2 separate regions of the Homo sapiens genome follow, and region 1 is linked to region 2. The links are contacts of gene promoters, found by promoter capture Hi-C in human tissues and cell types (Jung and others, 2019). All regions are on one chromosome and are shown on one strand. Each heading gives the region's core, a stretch centred on a gene start or on the middle of the fragment in contact. The rest is flanking DNA. Distances are from core to core; before and after follow the strand shown.

Region 1 (6,808 bases), core at 2,546-5,045, 220 kb before region 2:
AGAGTCCCTTGCAAATTTCAGCTTCTAGAAATAAATACTGCTGACTTCTCTGACTCTTAGTTAATAAAGGCCCTTAGGATTACTTTATGAATGTTGTTGACAAGTGTCCACATACATCCAAGAAGGAAGCATGGTATTCACAGGCAGCAAGAACAAGAAACAAATACCAATTATTTCACTAAAGCCTGAACAGCATGACCTCCATCCCCACCATGCCCTGAGCAAGATCTTCAACCTTACAGACAAGGCAATAACATAGTAAGAGGCAGTGAGCATGATGGTTAGGGACACAGGCTTTGAAGTCACTGCCAGATTCAAATCCAAGCTCAGCTGTTTTTTTTCTTTTAGTTTTGAGACAGGATCTCACTCTGTCACCCAGGCTGGAGTGCATTGGCACGATCTAGGCTCACTGCAAGCTCCGCCTCCCTGGTTCATGCCATTCCCCTGCCTCAGCCTCCCAAGTAGCTGGGACTACAGGTGCCCGCCACGACGCCTGGCTAATTTTTTGTTTTTGTATTTTTAGTAGAGACAGGGTTTCACCGTGTTAGCCAGGATGGTCTCGATCTCCTGACCTCGTGATCCGCCCGCCTCAGCCTCCCAAAGTGCTTGGATTACAGGCGTGAGCCACGGCGCCTGGCCTCTGTTTTTTTTTTTTTTTTTTCTAAACAGAGTTTCACTCTTGTTGCCCAGGCTGTAGTGCAATGGCGTCATCTCAGCTCACCGCAACCTCCGCCTCCTGGGTCCCAGTTCAAGCAGTTCTCCTGCCTCCGCTACTGAGTAGCTGGGATTACAGGCACGCGCCACCACACCCAGCTAAATTTTGTATTTTTAGTAGAGATCTGATTTCACCATGTTGACCAGGCTGGTATCAAACTCCTGACCTCGTGATCCGCCCACCTCAGCCTCCCAAAGTGCTGGGATTACAGGCGTGAGCCACTGTGCCCGGGTTTTTTTGTTTGTTTGTTTGTTTGTTTGGTGGAGTCTCGCTCTGTCACCCAGGCTGCAGTGCAGTGGCACAATCTTGGTTCACTGCAACCTCCAACTCCCTGGTTCAAGCGATTCTCCTGCCTCAGCCTCCCAAGTGGCTGGGATTACAGGCGCCCGCCACCACGCCCAGCTAATTTTTGTATACTTTAGTAGAGACGGGGTTTCACCATATTGGCCAAGATGGTCTGGATCTCCTGACCTTGTGATCCTCCCGTCTCGGCCTCCCAAAGTGTTGGGATTACAGGCGTGAGCCACCGCGCCCGGCCATGCTCTGCTCTTATGAGCTGGGTGGCCCTGAATATTTTATCCTCTCTGAGCTTCACTTTCCTCATTTGAAATCAGAATCAATAATAATACCTTCCACATGGGCTACAGTCAGAGTGAAACAAGCAACTATAAAAGCACTGAGCTCCTGGCTAACATGGTGAAACCCCATCTCTACTAAAAATACAAAAAATTAGCTAGGCGTGGTGGCGGGTGCCTGTAGTCCCAGCTACTCGGGAGGCTGAGGCAGCATGGCGTGAACCCAGGAGGCGGGGCTTGCAGTGAGGCGAGAGCGAGACTTTGTCTCAAAAAAAAAAAAGCACTGAGTATGGGTTCCAGCACATGGGAAGCTCTCTATAATGTAGGTGCCACCATCATCTTCATCATTGTCTTCATCTCACCTGGATCATCATCAAGTACTTGTAGTTCTATGGGAACCTAATATTAGGTCATCCTAACTCTAGTTTACTTGAAGACTCTATAAGCTCCTATTATTGAACCTGCGTTTGCAGCTAAAGAAATAAATTGACATCTTATGGCCGGCAGTGATGGTTCACACCTGTAAGCCCAGCACTTTGGGATGCCAAGGCGGGAGGATCACTTGAAGTCAGGAGTTCAAGACCAGCCTGGCCAAAATGGTGAAATCCATCTCTATTAAAAAATACAAAAATTAGCCAGGCACGGTGGCGGGCACCTGTAGTCTCAGCTACTTGGGAGGCTGAGGCAGGAGAATGACTGGAACCCAGGAGGCAGAGGTTGCAGTGAGCCACTGCACTCCAGCCTGGGCGATAGAGTGAAACTCCATCTCAAAAGAAAAAAAAAAAAAAAGGAAGAAATTTACATTATATAACTCAAAGTAGAAGCAACATAGTTTAGAAGTCTCCTGCATGGAAGAATTCATAAGACCAAAATATTAAAGGGAGAAAACATTCTATAGGATGACACCCAATCGCACTGACAAGCAGAGAAACAATGTGTGCAATGGTGTCCCGCTACAAGGCAGGGTTCCATGTCCTCTTAGGTCCTGTCACTCTAAGTTTAATTTTACAAAAATGGGGGCTTTAAAAATATCACATACTTAGTGGGGGAGGTTTTGCGTGTGTGGAGACAGAGTGCACAGGACCGTCCGTACTTTCTGCTCAATTTTGCTGTGAATCTAAAACTGCCCTAAAAAATAAAGTTCATTAAAAAAAAAAAATCACGGCCAGGCGCAGTGGCTCACGCCTGTAATCACAGCACTTTGGGAGACCGAGGCGGGTGGATCACAAGGTCAGGAGTTCGAGACCAGCCTGGCCAACACAGTGAAACCTCGTCTTTACTAAAAATACAAAAAATTAGCTGGGCGTGGTGGCGCACGCCTGTAGTCCCAGATACTCAGGAGGCTGAGGCAGAAGAATTGCTTGAACCTGGGAGGCGGAGGTTGCAGTGAGCTGAGATTGTTCCACCGTTCTCCAGCCTGGGTGACAGAGTGAGACTCTGTCTCAAAAAAAAAAAATCACATCCTAAGGTCCCAAGGACATAAAACAAGTTAGAGACCTCATCCAGTTTTTTGTTTGTTTCAGGGACCTGCAACCAACTTTCTTACTGACCAGTTTCCTGGGCTGTCTAGAACAGACAGCTTATGGGGTACTAACCCCATGCTCTATCCTAAGGTACCCCTCTTCATGCAGAGCGACACAGAAAAACAAATTTGTAGCACAAAGTACACCCGATTTGCTACAGCTTACAACTAGCCTCATGAATCCTTTTCTCATTAATTCAAAGTTTGCAAAAAAAAGAAATCACATACTTAAATCACTTGAGCACAGAAGCATATCAAAATCTAATATAAACAAACAAAAAACCCAACTTATTTTAACATGCCACTGAAACTGGGCTCAAGTTTTCAAACATCTTATGAAATATTACACTCTCCAGCAGGCTTTTTTTTTTTTCCTAACTGGAGATGAATGGCAGAGTTCTGATATGGAAAAGCACTCCATGTTTGTACAGAAAGGTAGCATAGGAAAAGTGGTCAAATTCAACCAGTCTGTCCTCATCAAACAGGCAACTACTGTCTTCTCAGCATTTCCAAAAGAAATCATATGCCTGCTACTGTTTATGTCATATGCCTGTTAATTTTTCATGCTAATTCTTAGTGTTTCTGGAAAACCTCACTGTTTGGCACCAAAAATTATTATTGCTATTGTTGTTGTTTTGTTAATTATGTCAGCCAAGCAGATGACGGTGAATTAATTCTGCAACGTTGAGTACTCAGTTGGCATACAAGCACCCAGCCTTCCAAAGGGATGTCCTTCATGTTTCACTGATTTTCGAATGACAGTCAGCTTGCCTAAACTTATCCTTTACATTTAAGACATTTGGTGGGTTCCTGTATGCCCAGGGGATTTTTATTATTTGTTTATGCAAACAGCAGGTTGCATAAGAGCCTTGCTGGCTTTTTTTTTTTTTTTTTTAGAGATTTCGTAGTTTCCTGATAACCATTCAGTCATCTATTTCAACACCCTGACATGACATAAAGGCAGGCACGGAACCACACGTTCACCATACAGACACACGCCACTTTGCTGGAGCATTCACTAGGCGAGGCGCTCCATCGGACTCACTAGCTGCACTCATGAATCGGCACCATCTGCAGGATCACTTTCTGGAAATAGACAAGAAGAACTGCTGTGTGTTCCGAGATGACTTCATTGCCAAGGTGTTGCCGCCGGTGTTGGGGCTGGAGTTTATCTTTGGGCTTCTGGGCAATGGCCTTGCCCTGTGGATTTTCTGTTTCCACCTCAAGTCCTGGAAATCCAGCCGGATTTTCCTGTTCAACCTGGCAGTAGCTGACTTTCTACTGATCATCTGCCTGCCGTTCGTGATGGACTACTATGTGCGGCGTTCAGACTGGAAGTTTGGGGACATCCCTTGCCGGCTGGTGCTCTTCATGTTTGCCATGAACCGCCAGGGCAGCATCATATTCCTCACGGTGGTGGCGGTAGACAGGTATTTCCGGGTGGTCCATCCCCACCACGCCCTGAACAAGATCTCCAATTGGACAGCAGCCATCATCTCTTGCCTTCTGTGGGGCATCACTGTTGGCCTAACAGTCCACCTCCTGAAGAAGAAGTTGCTGATCCAGAATGGCACTGCAAATGTGTGCATCAGCTTCAGCATCTGCCATACCTTCCGGTGGCACGAAGCTATGTTCCTCCTGGAGTTCTTCCTGCCCCTGGGCATCATCCTGTTCTGCTCAGCCAGAATTATCTGGAGCCTGCGGCAGAGACAAATGGACCGGCATGCCAAGATCAAGAGAGCCATCACCTTCATCATGGTGGTGGCCATCGTCTTTGTCATCTGCTTCCTTCCCAGCGTGGTTGTGCGGATCCACATCTTCTGGCTCCTGCACACTTCGGGCACGCAGAATTGTGAAGTGTACCGCTCGGTGGACCTGGCGTTCTTTATCACTCTCAGCTTCACCTACATGAACAGCATGCTGGACCCCGTGGTGTACTACTTCTCCAGCCCATCCTTTCCCAACTTCTTCTCCACTTTGATCAACCGCTGCCTCCAGAGGAAGATAACAGGTGAGCCAGATAATAACCGCAGCACGAGCGTCGAGCTCACAGGGGACCCCAACAAAACCAGAGGCGCTCCAGAGGCGTTAATCGCCAACTCCGGTGAGCCATGGAGCCCCTCTTATCTGGGCCCAACCTCAAATAACCATTCCAAGAAGGGACATTGTCACCAAGAACCAGCATCTCTGGAGAAACAGTTGGGCTGTTGCATCGAGTAATGTCACTGGACTCGGCCTAAGATTTCCTGGAACTTCCAGATTCAGAGAATCTGATTTAGGGAAACTGTGGCAGATGAGTGGGAGACTGGTTGCAAGGTGTGACCGCAGGAATCCTGGAGGAACAGAGAGTAAAGCTTCTAGGCATCTGAAACTTGCTTCATCTCTGACGCTCGCAGGACTGAAGATGGGCAAATTGTAGGCGTTTCTGCTGAGCAGAGTTGGAGCCAGAGATCTACTTGTGACTTGTTGGCCTTCTTCCCACATCTGCCTCAGACTGGAGGGGGCTCAGCTCCTGGGGTGATATCTAGCCTGCTTGTGAGCTCTAGCAGGGATAAGGAGAGCTGAGATTGGAGGGAATTGTGTTGTTCCTGGAGGAAGCCCAGGCATCATTAAACAAGCCAGTAGGTCACCTGGCTTCCGTGGACCAATTCATCTTTCAGACAATCTTTAGCAGAAATGGACTCAGGGAAGAGACTCACATGCTTTGGTTAGTATCTGTGTTTCCGGTGGGTGTAATAGGGGATTAGCCCCAGAAGGGACTGAGCTAAACAGTGTTATTATGGGAAAGGAAATGGCATTGCTGCTTTCAACCAGCGACTAATGCAATCCATTCCTCTCTTGTTTATAGTAATCTAAGGGTTGAACAGTTAAAACGGCTTCAGGATAGAAAGCTGTTTCCCACCTGTTTGCTTTTACCATTAAAAGGGAAACGTGCCTCTGCCCCACGGGTAGAGGGGTGCACGTTCCTCCTGGTTCCTTCGCTTGTGTTTCTGTACTTACCAAAAATCTACCATTTCAATAAATTTTGATAGGAGACAGTCTGGCGTTGCTATATCTGGGTTATGGTTCACAGAAATGGACTTCTTACTTAAGCAGAGACCTTTATGGGTTGTTAACTTTGTCCTGGTAGAAAACTACTCCACACTGCAAAGTAAGAAAGAGACACAGACACTGAGCTACATCATGAAACAACTAAGCAGAAATTACACCTGTGTCTAAACAAAGATAGAAAGAGCTGGGATTAAAAATAATTTGGAAGGATAGTACAGATAGGATTGCAAGAGCACTTACATTTTATTAGAGTTTGGTGAATATTGCTCTTCATATTTGTGCATTAAAAAGGGAATCAAGGCCAGGTGCAATGGTTCATGCCTGTAATCCCAGCACTTTGGGGGAGCCAAGGCGGGCAGATCACCTGAAGTAAGGAGTTTGAGACCAGCCTGGACAAAATGGTGAAACCCCACTTCTACTAAAAATACAAGAAAAATTAGCCAGGCATGGTGGCGGCCGCTTGTAGTCCCAGCTACTGGGAAGGCTGGGAGAAGAAGAATTGCTTGAACCCGGGAGGCGGAGGTTGCAGTGAGCCGAGGTGGTGTGCCTGCACTCCAGCCTGGGGGACAGAGCAAGACTTCATCTCAAATAATAATAATAAATAATATAAAAAGGGAATCAAGCCAGGCAGATATTTTTCCATAGGAGGGGGAAGAGCGAGCTTCCTATGGAATGGTTTCAGTTCCCAATTCGGAGAAGGAAAGGAGATGTACTGGTTTGAGTCTGTGATCAGTCCAAGTTTCTGTTACGCTTTCATTTCTAACTCTGTCAGTCCTTGATTATTTGGCAAGACGAGGCTTGCTTCAACCTCCTGACATGAACACAGATAAGGAATTTAGAGACAGGCTCCCAGCTCTGGGTGAATGACAGTAAATGAAGAAAGGTGGATGCTCTGGAATTACCTCTGTGCTTTCAGAGCAGTTGGCTTGTCTGTATCACCAAGCA
Region 2 (6,556 bases), core at 571-3,070:
TGAGCCGAGATCATGCCACTGCACTCCAGCCTGGGTGACACAGTGAGACTCTGTCTCAAAAAATAAAATTTCAAAAAAAAAAAATTTAAATGGCCAGGCACAGTGGGTCATTCCTGTAATCCCAGTATTTAGGGAGGCAGAGGCAGGAGGATAGCTTTAGCTCAGAAGTTCAAGACCTACCTGGGCAATATAGGGAGATCCTGTTGTCCACAAAAAGAAAAAAAAAATGTTAAAATGTGTAAGTGACTTCCCAATGTTGTAAACGGAAAGAGGCTTCCTTAAGGGCCTTTGAGCACTGACCTAGCAGTGTTCCAACCTCATCTTGCTCCACTCTGCCTTTTCACTCAACATGGTGGTCCTTACACCTAAGACACTCTTCCATCCTCCCACCCCCAACTTTGCCGATCCTTAAAGTCTCACTTCCTCACTTTACTGACTCCCACAGACTAGGGTGTTTGTTAAATATTCATAACTTCCTGTGTTTTTCACCTTTTTTTTTTTTTTTTTTTTTTTGAGACAGAGTCTTGCTCTGTCGCCCAAGCTGGAGTGCAGTGGCACGATTTCGGCTCACTGCAACCTCTGCCTCCCGGGTTCAAGCGATTCTCCTTCCTCAACCTCCTGAGTAGCTGGGATTACAGGCGTGTGCCACTACGCCTGGCTAATTTTTGTATTTTTAGTAGAGACAGGGTTTCTCCATGTTGGTCATGCTCGTCTTGAATTTCTGACCTCGTGATCCACCTGCCTCGGCCTCCCAAAGTGCTGGGGTTGCAGATGTGAGCCACCGCCCCCGGCCCACATTTCTTTGTGTGATCAATATCCATCAACAACCATCTCGACCCAAGAACAGGAACATTTATAATTATGGGGTTTTTGTTGCTTTTTGTGGACTACAGCCTTCGTGAGAGGAGGAATTACTCTATTGTGGTTACTCTTGTAACCATACTCAGGTCCTAGACAAGTGCCTGGCCCATCGAAGGTGTAAGTAAATAATGTGATTGAATGACAGAAAGCCTCAACAGACAAATAGTTGAGTCTAGCTAATCTTACATTAAAAACGAAGCAAGCTCAATAAACTAATCTACAACAGTCATCTCTGTAGCAAAGCTGGAGTTTCTTATTCTCTTTTATGTTTATTTTTATTCAGTTCCCTTTCAGGCTATGGAGTTCCTTATTCTCTGGTGTGGCACGCACACCAGAATCTGTGAGAAGCTATGCGTCGTGCTCTGATTTTTCACCCTTAGTTGCCTAACAGGAACATCCCATACTGGTTTTTGTTTTTCTTTTTCTTTTTGAGACAGGGTCTTGCTTTGTCTCCCAGGCTGGTGTGCAGTGGCGCCATCTGGGCTCAATGCAGCCTCGACCTCTTGGGCTCAAACCCTCCCGCCTCAGCTTGCCGAGTACTTGGGACTACAATCGCCCAGCTAATTTTTATATTTTTTTGTAGTGTCTGGGTCTCGCTCTGTTGCCCAGGGTGGTCTCCAACTCCTGGGCTCACGTGATCCTCCCACCTCTGCCTCCCGAGTAGTTGGTATTACAGGTGTGAGCCACCCCGCCCTGCCCCCAGATTGCTTTAGCGCATTCTGACCTACTCCAGCTTTCTTCACATTTCAAAAAGCACCAATCCCAGGATGCAATGCAGACAATGAGTACCAGTCGCTTAGAAACCACACGTCCCAGCATGCCGTCCTCCGGGCAATCGCAAGCCCGATAGGCCCCGCTGCATTCCGGGAGTTGTAGTCTCTAGCGACTGGCCCCGCCCCGTGTGCAGCTTTCGCGGCCTGCGTCTGGAGAAAACCCTAGCGGGTGGCTCCGTGCGGCCAGAGCTCTAGAGAGTGGTGCCGCCTTCCAACCTTCTTCCCCAAGCCCTGGTGGCCGGCTCCGCCTCTTCTCGAATCTTTTCCACAGCCCAAAATGGCCGCAGAGGTGTATTTTGGCGATCTAGAGCTCTTCGAGCCGTTCGACCACCCAGAGGAGTCGATTCCGAAGCCCGTTCACACTCGCTTCAAGGACGACGACGGCGACGAGGAGGACGAAAATGGGGTCGGCGACGCGGAGCTACGGGAGCGGCTTCGGCAGTGCGAGGAGACCATCGAGCAGCTCCGCGCCGAGAATATCCTTTCCTCTCGCTGGGCCCTGTCACCCGGGTGTGGGGCCGGGGCAGCGCCAGGCGTGGGGCCGGGGCAGCGCCGGGCGAGGGCGAGGGCGCGGGCGGAAGTTCCAGGAGGGCCAGAATTCCAAGTGCTTTCTGTCACCCGCCGGCGGACCGAGAGTCTAGGGTTCGGGGCGCGCAGGCTGCCTCGGCGCAGACCTCTTCCCCTCAGGGAGGCCGTCTCCTGACCAGACCCACTCCTGCCTCCCACCCGGGTGCCGTGTTTAGGGTTATTTTAGGCTGCTCACCTGACAGATTGTACACAAGCCCTTAATTGCCCCCCTCTGTTTGAGGTCGTGGTGAGGTTTCATATTTCGCAGCCACGCTCAAATTGTGCCGTCATGTTACAGTTGTAGGTGATGAAATACCGGCTGCTTAGACGCGGGATCGGTTTTTATACCGGGGCAAACGCTAGTGGTCCCAGAATGCAGAGTTGGGGGCCTCAAGGAATCCGGGTGTGCTGAGATAATTGGTTAATTGCTTGATTAAAATTGGGGATTAATTTTAGAGTTCTTCCACTCGGAGCTCGCTTCTGTGCTGAAGATGCTTTGCAACGCCTTGAGGAAAACGCGCCAAAGAAGTTTCTGTTAGACTTGAGTTACAAGATTGCAGATTTTTCTTGATTTGCTAGTATGTTTTTTTTTACGTTCGTAGAGTTTTATAGGTAGATAGATAACTTTGGTTCGGGTAGTTTTCCTTTTAAAATTTGTAGAGAACTGAAAGTGGCTGATATGTTAGCTTTTTTAGGGGGACGGGGTCGGGGAATGGAGTCTCAGTCTGTTGCCCAGGCTGGAGTGCAGTGGCGCGATCTCGGCTCACTGCAACCTCCGCCTCCCGGGTTCAAGCGATTCTCCTGCCTCAGCCTCCCGAATAGCTGGGATTACAGGCGCCCGCCACGGCGCCCAGTCAGTATATCAGTTTTTAAGGTTTGTGAAGCGCGATTTATTTTTTCAGAATGTCGTCTTCCTCCACATTGTGAGGAAAATTTTCAGAATACAAAAAGTTGAGGCCGGGCGCTGTGGCTCAAGCCTGTAATCCCAGCACTTTGGGAGGCCGAGGCGGGTGGATCATGAGGTCAGGAGGATCATGAGGATCAGGTGGATCATGAGGATCAGGAGGTCAGCCTGGCCAACATGGTGAAACCCCGTCTCTACTAAAAATACAAAATTAGCCGGGCGTGGTGGCGCGTGCTTGTAATCCCAGCTACTCAGGAGGCTGAGGCAGGAGAATCCCTTGAACCTGGGAGGCGGAGGTTGCAGTGAGCCAAGATCACACCATTGCACTCCAGCCTGGGCGACAGGGTGAGACTGTGTCTCAAAAAAAAAAAAAAAAAGTTGAAAGGATTCTACAGTGGACATCCATAGATTTATTCCAAATTCTAAAGTTGTTAACAGCTCGTTATACTGCATTCTCTTTATCACATAGTGGTTGTTGAAAGGTTTGACAGGAACACTGATGCTTCAATAATGGTTTTGGTTCAGTTTGTTAGTCTGTTGAACTTCAGGATCGTGTCTTAGAATATATGTTCGAAAGGATAAAAACCGTACTTTAATTTTGGGTTTCAAAAGCCTACCCCTGCAACAAAATAGAAGCTCAATAAGTGTGTCATCCTCAAAATATCCGTGGGTCTTTTGTCTTTATAATATTCTGACACCAAAAGTGAGAGAAGTAGTAGTTGAATTTTATGATTTGCATTGTTAAATGAGGGCTTATCTTCCTTAACAAATAATAACATCAAGAACTTAAACGAAAATTGAACATTCTGACTCGACCGAGGTATGAGATTTTTGAAATTACTCCATAGTTGTCCCTTATTATTTATCCTGATATTAATATTTAATCAGAATTTCGTTGTAAAAAGTGTATGGGATTTTTGTATCATTTTTATTTGTTTAGCATACTCTGAAGAAATCAAAGTAATAGTTATTTAATTGTGGGGATAAGGTCTGAATTCTCATAAGTGGATTAAAATTGTAAGCTCATTTATTGGATGAAAGGATGAAACAAAATCCAGAAAATGTTTACTTAATGTTCAGAATAGGCAAGTTGTTAACCTAGCTATTCCTATTTAACAAACATTTCTAGAAAGTTAGAATTAAGATTACAATATTGGCTGGGTCTGGTGGCTCATGCCTGTAATTCCAGCACCTAAAAAAAAAAATTATAGTATAATGGGCCAGGGGCAGTGGCTCACGCCTGTAATCCCAGCACTTTGGGAGGCCGAGGTGGGCGGATCAACTGAGGTCAGTTCGAGAGCAGCCTGGGCAACGTGGTGAAACGCTGTCTCTACTAAAATTACAAAAATAAGCTGGACGTGGTGGGCGCCTGTAATCCCAGCTACTTGGGAGGCTAAGGCAGGAAAATCCCTTGAACCCGGGAGGTAGAGGTTGCAGTGAGCTGAGAGTGACAAGAGCGAAACTCCGTCTGAAAAAAAAAAAAAAAAAGATTACAGTATTACTCTAGCTGAAGATTTATTTACATAGTTAAAATGTGTTCATAAATAGAACAATGAAAGAATCAGCATTTTAGAAGAAAAAGTAATGTGCTTTTGAAAAAGATAAAGTGTGTAGATTTGCATTTAGGCATCTGATTTTATGTTTTTGTTTTTGTTTGAGACAAGATCTCACTCTGTCACTCAGGCTGGTGTACAGTGTTGCAATTATAGCTCACTGAAACCTTGATCCTCCCGCCTCAGCCTCCCAAATAGCTGGGACTACAGGCAGACACCACCACACCCAGCTACTTTTTTTTTTTCTGATAGAGTCAGGGTCTTGCTGTGTTACTCAAGCTGGTCTCAAACTCCTGGCCTGAAGTGATCCTTCTGCCTAGGCCTCCCAAAGTGCTGGAATTACAGGGATGAGCCACCATGCCCAGCCTAGGCACCTAACTTTAACAGAGATATTACTGGTATCTCAAAATATATATTTATTTAACAGGTCACTAATCTAAAGTATTTGTTAAAGTACAGATTATGAGAAATTATATTTTCAAGCTTTCAGAATTTGGAGGTGCCATGATGTAATTTCACATGCACTTTTTTATTATATTTTTTAATTTTTTTGAGACAGAGTGTTACTCTGTTTCCCAGGCTAGACTGCAGTGGTACTATCTCAGCTCACTGCAACCTTCACCTCCCGGGTTCAAGCAATTCTCCTGCCTCAGCCTCCCGAATAGCTGGGATTACAGGTGCCCACTACCACACTCGGCTAATTTTTATATATTTAGTAGAGATGGGGCTTCACCATGTTGGCCAGGCTGGTCTCGAACTCCTGGCCTCGAGTGATCTGTCCACCTCAACCTCCCAAAGTGCTGGAATTAACAGGCATGAGCCACTGCACCTGGCCTCACATGAACTTTTTAGTCCCTGGCACCAGTTGGAATAACTGGCTGCAGTGGTGACTACAGGTTTAAATTTTAGAATTTAGAAATATTTCAGATTTTTTTTTTTTGAGATGGAGTCTCGCTCTGTCGCCCAGGCTGGAGTGCAGTGGCATGACCTCGGCTCACTGCAGCCTCCACCTCCTGGGTTCAAGCGATTCTGCTTTCTCCTGCCTCAGCCTCCTGAGTAGCTGGGACTACAGGTGCCTGCCACCAGGCCCGGCTAATTTATTTGTATTTTTAGTAGAGATGGGGTTTCACCGTGTTGGCCAGGATGGTCTTGATCTCCTGACATCATGATCTGCCCGCCTCGGCTTCCCAAAGTGCTGGGATTACAGGCAGGAGCCACCGCACCCGGCCAATATTTCAAATTAACTTCCTCATATCTCACCCTTTTTTCTCTATGTGAGCTAACTTTGTGTATCTAAACTCATTTTTGGCTGGGCACAATGGCTCACACCTGTAATCTCAGCACTTTGGGAGGACTGCTTGAGACCAGAAGTGGGAGACCAGTCTGGACAACATGGTGAGACTCTGTCTCTACAAAAAATTTTTAAAAATTAGCTGGATGTGGTGGCATGTTCCTCTGGTCTCAGCTACATGGGAGGCTTAATAAAATAAACTAAATTTTGATTAGGTATTCAATATATTAAATATAACTAGGATTCCTCATAAAAGTCATAATTTTTATATGTTAAAGATGTTTTATTTAGATAAGTTTACACTTTCTAATGGAGTCATTCATTTAAACATTTAATATTTATCTTAAATTGGGTGATTTTTATCCGAGTTCAAACGATTACCGCATCATATAGGCTTTGCCAGTTTATAAGCACAAAGGATTAGTATCATGAAAAAGAAATAAATCAGTGTTTTCTTAGAATTGGTGCCCTCCATATTGTCAGGCTGATAAAGTGTTGTACAGAAAACCAAGGAAAAAGGACAAATTAAATTATTTAGATAAAATTTGTGCTCTCAAGCCTTTTGATTTAGTCCTTATTTTTGAAACTGTTATAATCAGAAGTTTCT

The links. The method cuts DNA at HindIII sites, captures the fragments that hold promoters and counts their contacts. A contact is called where the count stands out against the background at its distance.
Region 1: a contact is called between the fragment with the promoter of HCAR3 here and the fragment with the promoter of ZCCHC8 in region 2, in 2 of the 25 tissues and cell types used here (mesenchymal stem cells and ovary).

The regions. Positions count from the first base shown.
Region 1 is chr12:122,713,798-122,720,605 of GRCh38, reverse strand. It overlaps HCAR3 (hydroxycarboxylic acid receptor 3), which reads left to right and starts at 3,795. Exons shown (of 1, transcript NM_006018.3): 1 at 3,795-5,850. The coding sequence starts at 3,869. The coding sequence ends at 5,032. The HindIII fragment of the contact is 11,637 bases long and covers 1-6,808 here.
Region 2 is chr12:122,496,196-122,502,751 of GRCh38, reverse strand. It overlaps ZCCHC8 (zinc finger CCHC-type containing 8), which reads left to right and starts at 1,820. Exons shown (of 14, transcript NM_017612.5): 1 at 1,820-2,110; 2 at 3,883-3,925. The coding sequence starts at 1,912. RefSeq lists enhancers at 775-1,466, 1,402-1,581, 1,632-1,691, 1,892-1,971, 1,467-2,160 and 1 more and a silencer at 2,112-2,261. The HindIII fragment of the contact is 12,081 bases long and covers 1-6,556 here.